Linked DNA regions of Homo sapiens: region 1 is linked to region 2. Evidence: promoter capture Hi-C in 16 types of primary human blood cells and fetal thymus (Javierre and others, 2016). All regions are on one chromosome and are shown on one strand. The core of a region is centred on a gene start or on the middle of the fragment in contact, and the rest is flanking DNA. Distances in the headings are between cores, read along the strand shown.

What was found. Contacts are between HindIII fragments. The CHiCAGO score rates a contact against its expected background, and 5 or more counts as called.
Region 1: a fragment that was not itself captured here is called in contact with the fragment with the promoter of NCAM2 in region 2 in 1 of 17 cell types (endothelial precursors); the score reaches 7.1 in endothelial precursors.

The regions. Positions count from the first base shown.
Region 1 is chr21:23,015,028-23,020,283 of GRCh38, forward strand. No RefSeq gene overlaps it. Among named protein-coding and RNA genes, the nearest start is that of MIR6130, 62 kb to the right of the region's middle. The HindIII fragment of the contact is 1,712 bases long and covers 762-2,473 here.
Region 2 is chr21:20,996,713-21,002,599 of GRCh38, forward strand. It overlaps NCAM2 (neural cell adhesion molecule 2), which reads left to right and starts at 1,697. Exons shown (of 18, transcript NM_004540.5): 1 at 1,697-1,906. The coding sequence starts at 1,852. The HindIII fragment of the contact is 4,236 bases long and covers 1-2,626 here.

The sequences.
Region 1 (5,256 bases), core at 368-2,867, 2.0 Mb after region 2:
CTTTAGACAGATTCAATCAGTATTTCAGCCCACTTCTTATATACCCATGGTGGAGGTTCAGTACTTGCAAAATCACATCGCACCTGCTTACAAGTTACATTAAAGTAGAATCACATTGTGGTTTGGGTGTAAGAGTACATTTAGTTCTAGATTACAGAAGCATAATAACTAACCCTGTCAGACATTATTAATCTTATGTGTAAGAAAAGGAAAAGGCTAAGGTCATTTCTCTTTTCTTTTTTTTTTTTTTTTTTTTTTTTTTTGAGATGGCGTCTTGCTCTGTCGCCTCGGCTGGAGTGCAGTGGTGCAATCTCGGCTCACTGCAACCTCCGCCTCCCAGGTTCACGCGATTCTCCCGCCACAGCCTCCTGAGTAGCTGGGATTACAGATGTGCGCCACCACGCCCGGTTATTTTTTGTATTTTTAGTAGAGATGGGGTTTTGCCATGTTGGTCAGGCTGCTCTCGATCTCCTGACCTCATGATCCACCTGCCTGGACCTCCCAAAGTGCTGGGATTACAGGCGTGAGCCACTGCGTCCAGCCTAGGTCATTTATCTTTTGAAGAATGTAGTGGCTCAGGCAAGAGACGTAGGGGACCATGTTCTGTATTCTATTTTGTCTTCAAAGCATCTTTCTGGAGACCTATATGTCATCATAGAGCCAGAGGCATTGTGAAATTATGCTGGCAAGCAGAAATGAGTAAACACGGCTTTTTATGTTTGCTGCTTTGTTTTACACTTTACTCCAGATTGGCATTTCCAAGCTTCTTGTGCGTTTGCACTCTGCAGTATAAAAGACATCTTAACCTAAAATGACAAAACTGTACTTAGGAACTTTTCCCAAAATCTGCTTGCTTCTAATGCAGCCTTTTGTATCTCATTTAATAGCAACTTTTTTTCTTAGTCTTCAAAATTTGGGAGTCACAATTGACTGTTATCTCCTCTCACACCCCATATTTGATATTAAATTGATAATACATTTGGAAGTTGTCTGCGTATTTTTTTTTTTTTTACCTCATCTACTGTAAACTAGGTCCAGGACACCTAAACCACTGCATGATTTCAGTAGTCTCCTAAGTACTCTCTCTACTTCTAGCTATTCCTCTTTTTTTTTTTCTCAACACAACCACCATAGTTAGCCTGTTAAGACCTGTGTCACATACACAGAAGTTGGTCTCCTCAATAAGCAGATTCTCAGATGGGGTTTAATCCACAGTAGGTTTATCAAGGTGTTTCTTTTCCTTTAGCAGCTATGGATGGAAGAAGAAAGAAGCAACATAGGCAGAAGGAGAAGTTAAAGTTGAAAGAAGACCCAACTGCAGACACAGCCAATCTCACTGGGTGCTCTGGAGCTGTAAAAACCTTTTAGGGCTATCTCAAAGTTTTCCAAGATGAGCTTAGAGGCCCATTCTTGTGGGATGCACCCTGAAAAGGGCATGATATTGGGCAAGCTCTCTGCAGCTGTGGCAAACTCTGAATTACCTGGAAGGTAAAGGCTGTCTGCCTGCCATCACTATCCTGGTAGCTGAGGCAACAAGATTCTCATCAAAGTGTGAGATGACCTGTATGTCACAATGTCTACACCATCTCATCATGTCCCTTCTCAGCTTCAAACTAAGGACTTTTCATTGCTTTCAAAATTGGAGCCATAAAGTTCACAATGACTTTCAATGCCCTACAACATCTAGACCTTCATTTAACCTCTTAAAATTCCCCATTTCACTCAACACTACTCCAGCATTTGTTGTCCTGTGTGTTCTTGGTCAAATATGTGAAACACACTGCCACCTTCTGGGCTATGGGCTTCCTCTGCCCTCGGCCTACTTGACGTGAACTTTCCCTAACAACTCACTGTCCACTTTCTCGTCATTTTTAATGATTTTTTCAAATATCATGCTGATCATATGAAATATTAAGAGCACCCAGCTTTACTTTCTATTTCTCTTTTTATCATTTATCTATCTATCCGTGTATCTATCATCACCTATTTATCTTCCCTCCAAGTTTTCAACATGAAGTACATTATTAAATTTTTATGTTCCTCAAAAGGGAAAAATAATTTATTCGTAGAAAATAAATGAAAAATGATTGAATAATGAAGACAAATGATAATGAGCTCTATAAAAAGCAAATATAATTTCGTAGCACAACAGGGTGATTATAGTCAACAATATTATACATTTTAAAATAACTAAAAGAGTATAGTTGAATGTCGTAACAAAAATAAATGTTTGGGTTGAAAGATCTCCATTTAAATATGCCATATGCCTGGATAAAAATATATCATGTACCCCATACATATGTACACCAACTATGTACTCACAAAACTTAATTTTAAAAAAAGAATGTAAAACATAAAATAAACGGTAGATATTAGAAGCAATAAAAATATATGTTTTCATATTTAAACAGTGAACAAATTTATGCTTAGATTATATAACCTGTATTACTGGTTATAAATAGCAATCACTATAAGCTTCCAGGAAAGATTATCCCAATAACTACTAAGATGTCTATAAATACATGAAATAAATGGAAAACTCACAACCCTTCCACAATACACATGCAAACTAAAGTTTGCATTTGATGTGTACTTAAGAGTCTATGACTTATTTTAACTAACTATAATATCAACAGAACCTTAAAAAGCATTTTAAACTCACCATGACTGAGGTTTTTCCTTTCTTTTTTTTTTTGTTTTTTGAGACAGGATCTCACTCTGTCATCCAGGCTAGAGTACAGTGGTGCAATCTCAGCTCACTTCAACCTTTACCTCCCAGACTCAAGCAATCCTCCTTTGATCAGCCTCCTGAGTAGCTGGGACTACAGTCACACCACCACACCTGGCTAATTTTTGCATTTTTTGTAGAGATGGGGTTTTGCCATGTTGCCTACGCTGATCTCGAACCCCTGGGCTCAAGGGAGGCACCCGCCTCAGCTTCCCAAAGTGCTGGGATTATAGGCATGAGCCAATGTCCTGGCCTTTAGATTTTTTAAAATAGAGCAAATTAACACACTTGCAGGGTATAGAAAACCTCATAGTTTCTCTCCCCAATTCAGCATCTATGAATTAGAAACTCTGAGGCTGTATCTCAGGAAAAAAAATTATATAGCTATTACTCAGATATGTGGGAACTTCCTTAATGTAGTTATAATATGTTGAGCTCACTTCCTATGAATAATTGCTGTGTAATGGTTCTCATGTCACTGGTATTGGTAAAGAAAATTATGTGGTTCTGTGTTTAATGGATAAATATTGCATATAATAAGAATAGCTTTGCTGGTGAGCAAGTGAAGTGGATAATCATGCTAAAGGACAAATAGTCACTATAACCCCAGATATTGTATGTGTCACATACTAAATTATGAATTATTTGCATTTAATTGACCTCATTCATTAGACATGAATGGGTTTTCTGTTTTTTCTCCATTTTTACCTTTGTTTTATGGCTGAAAGTTGCTTGGGAATAAGATGAAAACATACAGCGATTCCTACAAATGGAGGTATGTTGTACTGATTAAAACATGGGCCCTGAAGTAAGCCCATTTTGTTCTAAATCTCAGCTATATCCCTTCTTTGTTGTGAGAACTTGAGGAAATAAGTAAGCATCTTTGCACTTCAGATTCCTCATCTGTAATATAACTACCTCTAATACGTTGGGATGTCAAGAAGATAAAGGATATTACTAGAGGCTGAGGAACTTTGAACATTTTCTAGTAGTACATAAGCTTTCAACATAGGTTAATTTTCCACCTGTAAATTATCTTAAGGATGAAGAAGATTCCTCCTCCATTAAGTAGGACTTCATGAGGAAGTTGTATGGATCCCATAGACAACAACCATATTCTATCTCTAGATCCACTATGGCATTGAAGAATCATTCATATGAATGTGAGTAGGAGGACACCATTGAAAAAATGACTCACTACTTAGTAGAATTGGGAAAGGAGGGTGATAACACGAGAATTTCAAGACGCCTCATACCATTTTTGCTTGAATACTAAGAAGTAATGATGTGCAATGAGCAGGGAAAACAGAGGTAGGATATAAAGTTGGGTAAGTAAAAGCTACTTAGATCAGAGCATAGTAATGAGGATCTTGAATTCACTCTTTTTCCCTCCAACAACAACTAATTCATCTCATCCCAGTCCAGCCACACTAGTTTCCTTCAATTTGTCAGTTTGAACTTTCTATGCTTATTTTTGCTCCAAGACACTAGGATTTTCTGTTGCTACTCCCTGGTAGCCCTTTCTTTTAGTTCTTAAATAACTACTTCGTTAGCTGAGACTCATCTCAAACTCTCCCCCTATCTATGGCTGTGCTTCACCTTACTACCCAGTGATGCCTGTATTTACTACCGTCATCTCAACTGGCAGATTTTCTTCTTTTTATTTATCACTATTTGAGGTTTTATTATAATAACTGGGGAAAAACAGCCACAGTAAATTATTGGTTTGTGAGTAAAGGTTTTGTTCTTCTGTTGCTGTATGATGTCACATTCTATTGCAAATTTATTGCAAGTTCTGGACTAAACTGAGAAAATACTTTTTTTTTGGACAAATATTGACTTTTACCATGTGTAATTAGAATGTAACAGAATTTCTGAATGTGTCACATGGTTTGAAGACACAGTGAATCACCTTTTTATTATATAGATACCTTGTTTTCTCTCTGTCCTTCAAAATAATCTGACTATAAATGAACTTTAATAAACACATTTTTGCAAATAAGAAAGAATGATTGTATGCTTACTATTCTTATTTTGAAGAAAAACTTTAAAGAGCACAATATGCTGGTCTTCAGTGACCTTGCACAGGTTTTAAATGTAAAAAAAAAAAAGATTATAAAATTTAAAATTTGATTATCTGATGTCTGCAAAAATAGTCTTCAATTAACCTTCCAGTTTTAACAGATAAGTATTTAACCATCTTACTTAACATTACTTCCAATAAAATAGACAATCTCACATATATTTTTGAATAAATAAATGAATAATTATATAGGCCAAAAGGCACAACCACTATACTTAAAATGAGAATGACAAGCCAGATAAAGAGAAAATAAGATATAAGGCAAACTGGATTATTTTTAAAAGTAGGATGAGAAATGATGGCAAGAAAAATGCAATTTGTGTTAGATTTTAAATCATATTCAAGACTTCTCCTTCCAAGCACAATGGAATAACTTATGGCAGAATAACACTCTCATTAAAAATAATCAGGCCGGGCGCGCTGGCTCACGCTTGTAATCCCAGCA
Region 2 (5,887 bases), core at 447-2,946:
GCTTAAGGCAGTTCAGCGATGGTGAGTTGAGGGCCGCCTTTCCCCTCCTCTCTTCCTGATAACCCCATCCCAGGATGCCAAGTGGACGAATCATCTGTATAAAGCGCTCTGCCTGGGGAGGACAAATCGCAGACGGTATCTCCCCTATGCATGTTAGCCTGTGTCTACTCTTGCCCCCTGCCCTCCCTGAAGGCAATGCACTGCCCTTTTCAGCGTGAAATCCCCAGGCTGGGGCTGGATTCTGAGCTCTACATTTCTACCTCCCCCCTCTCCAACCCCCGCTATTTCTATGTCCTCACTGATAAGGAAGGAGCTAGGGTCCTTGTGGAGGCCGGGGCGAGGCAGTTGAGTTTTCTAAGGAGCCAGAGAGAAAGTGCAGATGAAAGGACCCATCGTCAGCGTTTGCAGGTCGCGGTAACCCCAGGCCAGATTGACATGGGCTCCGCACCCGGGCCGGTGATTCTGCCTCTTAACCGCTCTTGCAGGAGAGGTGACGTTAATCTCACAAACGTTTTCCTACCCTTCTAGGAGAAATAACGATAAGCCCCAATCTTAAGGAGCAGAGAGTTAGTTCCGGGCGTTTGCCACGGCTCCCTCACTTCAATTTACACTCGCACACGCGGGTACGTGGGTGTTCGGGGTAGGGCACTGATCTGGGGAAGGTCTCCCCCCCGCGACCCAACTCATCTTTGCACATTTGCAGTCCTCCCTCGGTGCACTCCTGGCGGGGATCTGGCCAGTGCAGCGCACTGGGACCGAGGGCAGAGCCCGCGGAGTGAGGCCAGGAGAGACTTCAGGCCTCTAAGGACACAGCTGAGGCTAAGGCTGAGTTGAACGCAGCCCCTCCCGCGGCTCGTCCCCTCTCCAGTGTCTCTCCCGTAAGGTGCCGCTCCCAACAGCAATGGGTCGAGATGTAGAGGAAACACTCTGTACGTTATTTTTCCGCCCACCCTTTAGCGCCTGAGGAGACAGACAGTGTAGACTTTAGGGTACAATTGCTTCCCCTCTGTCGCGGCGGGGTGGGGAGCGTGGGAAGGGGACAGCCGCGCAAGGGGCCAGCCTGCTCCAGGTTTGAGCGAGAGAGGGAGAAGGAGGTCCACGGAGAGACAAGAATCTCCCTCCTCCCACGCCCAAAAGGAATAAGCTGCGGGGCACACCGCCCGCCTCCAGATCCCCCATTCACGTTGAGCCGGGGCGCGCTCGGGGCGGTCGCCTGCAGTATCAGTATCAGCATCAGCATCAGCATCAGCATCTGCATGAGCATCAGCTCAGCTCAGCTCAGCTCAGCATCAGCTCAGCTGTCCTGAGGCAGCCGGCGGCTGTGAAGGAGCTCCAGGCTGCCCCCATCCCCACGCCCTTCTCGGCTCAGGGCGTGCATGAACCTGCGGATGGCCGGCGGGCGAGTGGCGCCTTCGCGATCGCGGCCGCCCCTCTAGGCGGAGGCACCGGGGACCGAACCCGTGACTTCGAGCTCCACTGCGGACGAATCCCGGGACCGCGCGCCTCGCGGAAGAGCGGCCGCCGTGCAGCGCGGAGGGATACGCCTCGGCCGCACCTCCCCTCGCCGCGCCCCCGCCCCCGCCGCCCTCCCCGCCCGGCTCTGCTGCCGCCGCGGCGGCCGCTGCTGCTGCTGCTTCTGCCGCCGCTGCCGCCGCCGCTGCCTGGATATAGTGCGGCAAGAGCGGAGCTTGCAGTCACTTTGCGAGGAGGAGCGCGCGGGCTGCGGGCGGCTGGGGCACCGCGGGAGCGGCGGCGGCGGCTCTAGCAGAGGCGGCCGGGGCAGCGAAAGGTTCTCTCTCCAGGGCTGGACTTAATAACTTTGAAACTGTCCACCGGTGTCACGTCCTGAACATGAGCCTCCTCCTCTCCTTCTACCTGCTGGGGTTGCTTGTCAGTAGCGGGCAAGGTAGGAGTGTGGCGCTTTATTGCATTTACTTTCCCTCCCCCTTCCACCCGGCCAAGAGAGGCAAAGAGGGAGGCGCAGGAAGAATGAAATGAAAGAACTAAAGTTACAGTTATTGCTGTTGTTGTTATTATTATTTTCGTTCTTTCTCCTAGCTGTCCCTAAAATTGTATCTGTTGTGTGGAGACCCTTAAATAAGAGAAGGGAAAATACAGAATTGGAGAGGGGAATCGGTGAGCAGGATATCCAGGGAAACCGCTTCTTCTTCTTCTTTTTTTTTCCTCTGGGATTATGGCTTTCTCTTATTTTTATTATCAGAAATTGGATGAGTGTGTTAACAGTGAAATATCTGAGGTTGCGGAAGGAAAGGGCACGATGGTGTTTTACAGAAGCAGCAAAAACTATCAGTGTTAAACTCATTTGCAAAATATCTGCTGTGTGCAAGACGTTCGATTCTTGGAGACTCTTTTTTTTTTCCACCCCTTTCCCAAAACCCTAATTCCTGACTATGAAGTGAATGATGATGGCTTATTTCTGTTGGAAACTAAGAGAGGGGCCGTGGATATTGTGTGTAAGAAAGCAAATGGATAAAACTAGGGATGTGTTGCAGTCATTCATTTTGACCCCAACCCCTTATTAATACAGAAAGGTGGAATCATTTTATAACATTACATTGTAATTACACCTGTAGAGGATTTTTGGGGTTGTGGGAGAACTGGTGGAAGCTTTTATCTCTTAAAAAAAAAAAATGAATAGCCTGGTAGAATAACCTGAGAGGGAATTTGTGGAAGCTATCACTGTTTGTCTCTAGAGAGATAGATATGAATTTATCTGGCTGTTTAGATAGTAAACACTCACATGAAATATATTTACAATAAATGGAAGCATTTTCAACTGTCCAGACAAGTTTGGACGTTTAATTAGGGACACAAAATGCTAAAACATGCATTGGTGAAAGTCTTTAAAGGAAAAATAAAATAGCACTAATTTTGAGATATGTAATGATTGCAAAGAATGTTATGTTGTTAGTGTAGTGTGAAATTGGTTTTTTAAAATAATATAATAAATTACAAGACAAGTTAAAATATCCCCAAGATATTCAGTTCTAAGCATTTTTAGCCTCTTCTGTATTGCTCGTTTGGTCCAGCAGGGGGTGGTAGAACTCCATTTTAAGCCCAGAAGTTGGTTTCTGCTCTTCCACAGAGTCCTTCTATCATTCTTCAGCAGGGCTTGACATTTTGGATGTGAAGCCTTCCTTTTTCTGCCCTTCTCCTCCCCACAGCTATAGTGTTAGTGGCGGATGAAACACGATTGGATGCAGATTTAATGTTCAGAAATCAGTATGCAAATGTTGGATATTCCTATAGTTTGTAAAGTGTCTTGATAAGATTCTGCTCATTTTCCCTTCCTAACATAGAGTATGAAATATTTCAGTCTTAGCAAAATTGCAGATATGTCCATCTGAAGCTAATACTAGCCCAATTCGTTAATTCAGTGGTTCTTAAGCAAAGATCAGCATGCACATATGTCCTACAGATATGCTTCTTTAATTTTCAGATAGCTGCTGATTGTGTTTAACTGTTCATTTATAGCATAGACAGGTATTTTTGAGCACCAAGAAACAATCCCTGAAAATTGCAGTTAAAATACAACTGCAATTAAATAAGTGTAGGTAGTGTGGGGCAGAATGGGAGCATAATAGGAAACAAGTTTATGCAGACTTAGGATTACATTGTGAGTGGTTTGGAGAAGAAAAATGTCTCAGTTGTGGAATCTGAATTTATCATTGTAGAGGCTAAGTGTGTTGGAATTTGGAGACATAGGAAATTAGAAATGTTTAGATATATAGGTTTAAATAGTACACAGAGACATAAAATTTGGATGTGTACATGTAACATAGATGTGAAATTGTGATTCAGCTAATTTGTAAGTCAGGATACGAGGTGGTTATGAAGAGGCACTCTGAGACAAGCATCTCTGAAGGGGAGCCCATATTCACTGTAATGAAACAGGGTAGAAGGAGACCATCATTGTAAAGATCTCTCTATCTAGTACAATTTCACAATGTGTGGCACTCATAGAGACACAGATATATATCAGAGAGACGTAGCTTTTGTGAAAGGGAACATATAGTACTTCTATGCCATGTGTCCTGATGAAGTCAGAGATGCTTGGATATAGATATCCTCATCCTGGAGTCCAATTCCTCTATGCTAGTGTTTTGTTCTCTAATTAAGGATGCAGCAGCAAGTATCAGACACACCACCGGGAGCTGTTTAAAAAAACAGACCTAGTGTAACTCATGATTTTGTTTATTCTCTTGTAAAGAGGGCCATGGAAAAGCCACCAGTCAGTGATCCCTGGTCTTGCCTTAGAAATACTAAAATCTCAGCTTGCTGATTTATGTGTCCAACAGTATACTTGCAGGGGATTTTATGAAGCATGATTGAAGCTATTGCTTTGGAAAGTGGTGTGCAGTTAGACTGAGGAAAGGCAACAATGATGTATTCCCTTTTTAGGAGTCAAAACGTTTTGAACTGAAGCAGTTGAATAGGAGAAAATGACATTAAGTGAGAAACTGACTAACTTAAGTGAATGCCAATACTATAATTAGCTAACAAGGCCTAATAGTTTACTTGTAACTCTCAATACAACCTTATTGTTGTACAGTAGTAAGACGCTTTTTTTTATTGTAGCAGAAATACTCCTTTAAAAGCCTCTAATTTCCACTGCAAGATTAATGTATAATGAAGTAAGGTTAGAATGTTATTGTGAAGTCTGAATTTAATTGTCAATGAAAGAAAATGCTGTAATTCTGTAACTTTTGCAATTATTTTTCCTTTGTGTTCAAAACTTGGTCACAGGCTTTGTAATCATAAATCTCAAGTGATAACTTCAGTTTCTGATTAACTGCATTTGCTGTTTGGATCTTTGTATATTCAAATTTCCAAACTGTTGTATGTATGGATTGCTTTCGTGAGAGTTTTTACATTTTTGAAACCACTTCCTTCTTCCTTTAAAAATTAAACAAGTATGATTAATAAGCATTTTTCCTGGATGTTCACATATGTAAGATAGAAGCACTGTTATACTAAAACCTAAAGTAAGAATAATGCTATTCATCTCTCTTGCAATGCAGTTCAAACGTACCACTTAGAACACTTACCTAAGCCAAAATCGTGAGGAAAGGAGGGGTGAATTGCCCAGTTGATCAGTTAAAGCAGTCATCTGCTTACAGTTATTCTCTTTGGTGAAGTGCTAGTAAGTCATTGTACATTACAGCAATGTACCTTCTAAAAATAGAGCACAGGTGTGTGAGTGTCTACTAGTTTGAAGATTACAGGAGAGAGCTCCACAAACTCATCTTCTGTCGGGGCTGTTACATGGCTCCAGCCTCTCTCGTATGCTTTTTCTATCTGCTGTGCTCTAATTCTTTGATATCAGCCTCTCTGTGCAAAGTTTCTATTAAATCGACTGGGTCTTCTTTTGCACTTGGGGAAGATGTAATGTAAAGGCTAATGTAAATTAATATCTTTATTGTCAGAGTAACCCAGAGGATTTCCCTCACTACTTCATATCAAAGGAGTTAGGCAGAGTATTTTCTCACTTTTAATGCAGAATCGGAGCCCATAGAGCAAGAAGGGAAGTTGGTGGGTCCCGAGAGTGTCAGATGAGTCTTTTCAATGACACAGGGAGCTAATTTTCTCCCCGAGGTACTGTCCTACTAGAGAAGCAATTAATGGAACAAAAGAACCTCATTCAGTACCAAAAGTTAGACTTCATATGATTTTGTAAATAGAATGGCCTTCTTTCAAAAATAGGACTAGTTTGCAATGAAACTGAGAAATGAGCTACAGAGATTGAGGCTAGTAACCAAGCTGAACAGTGTAATTTGTTTTTGCCTGTCCTCGTGTGGAAGCAGTGCAAATAGTAACAGGATCGACAATCTGAAGACTCTGGAACTGGTCCTCCTGCATTCTCTGT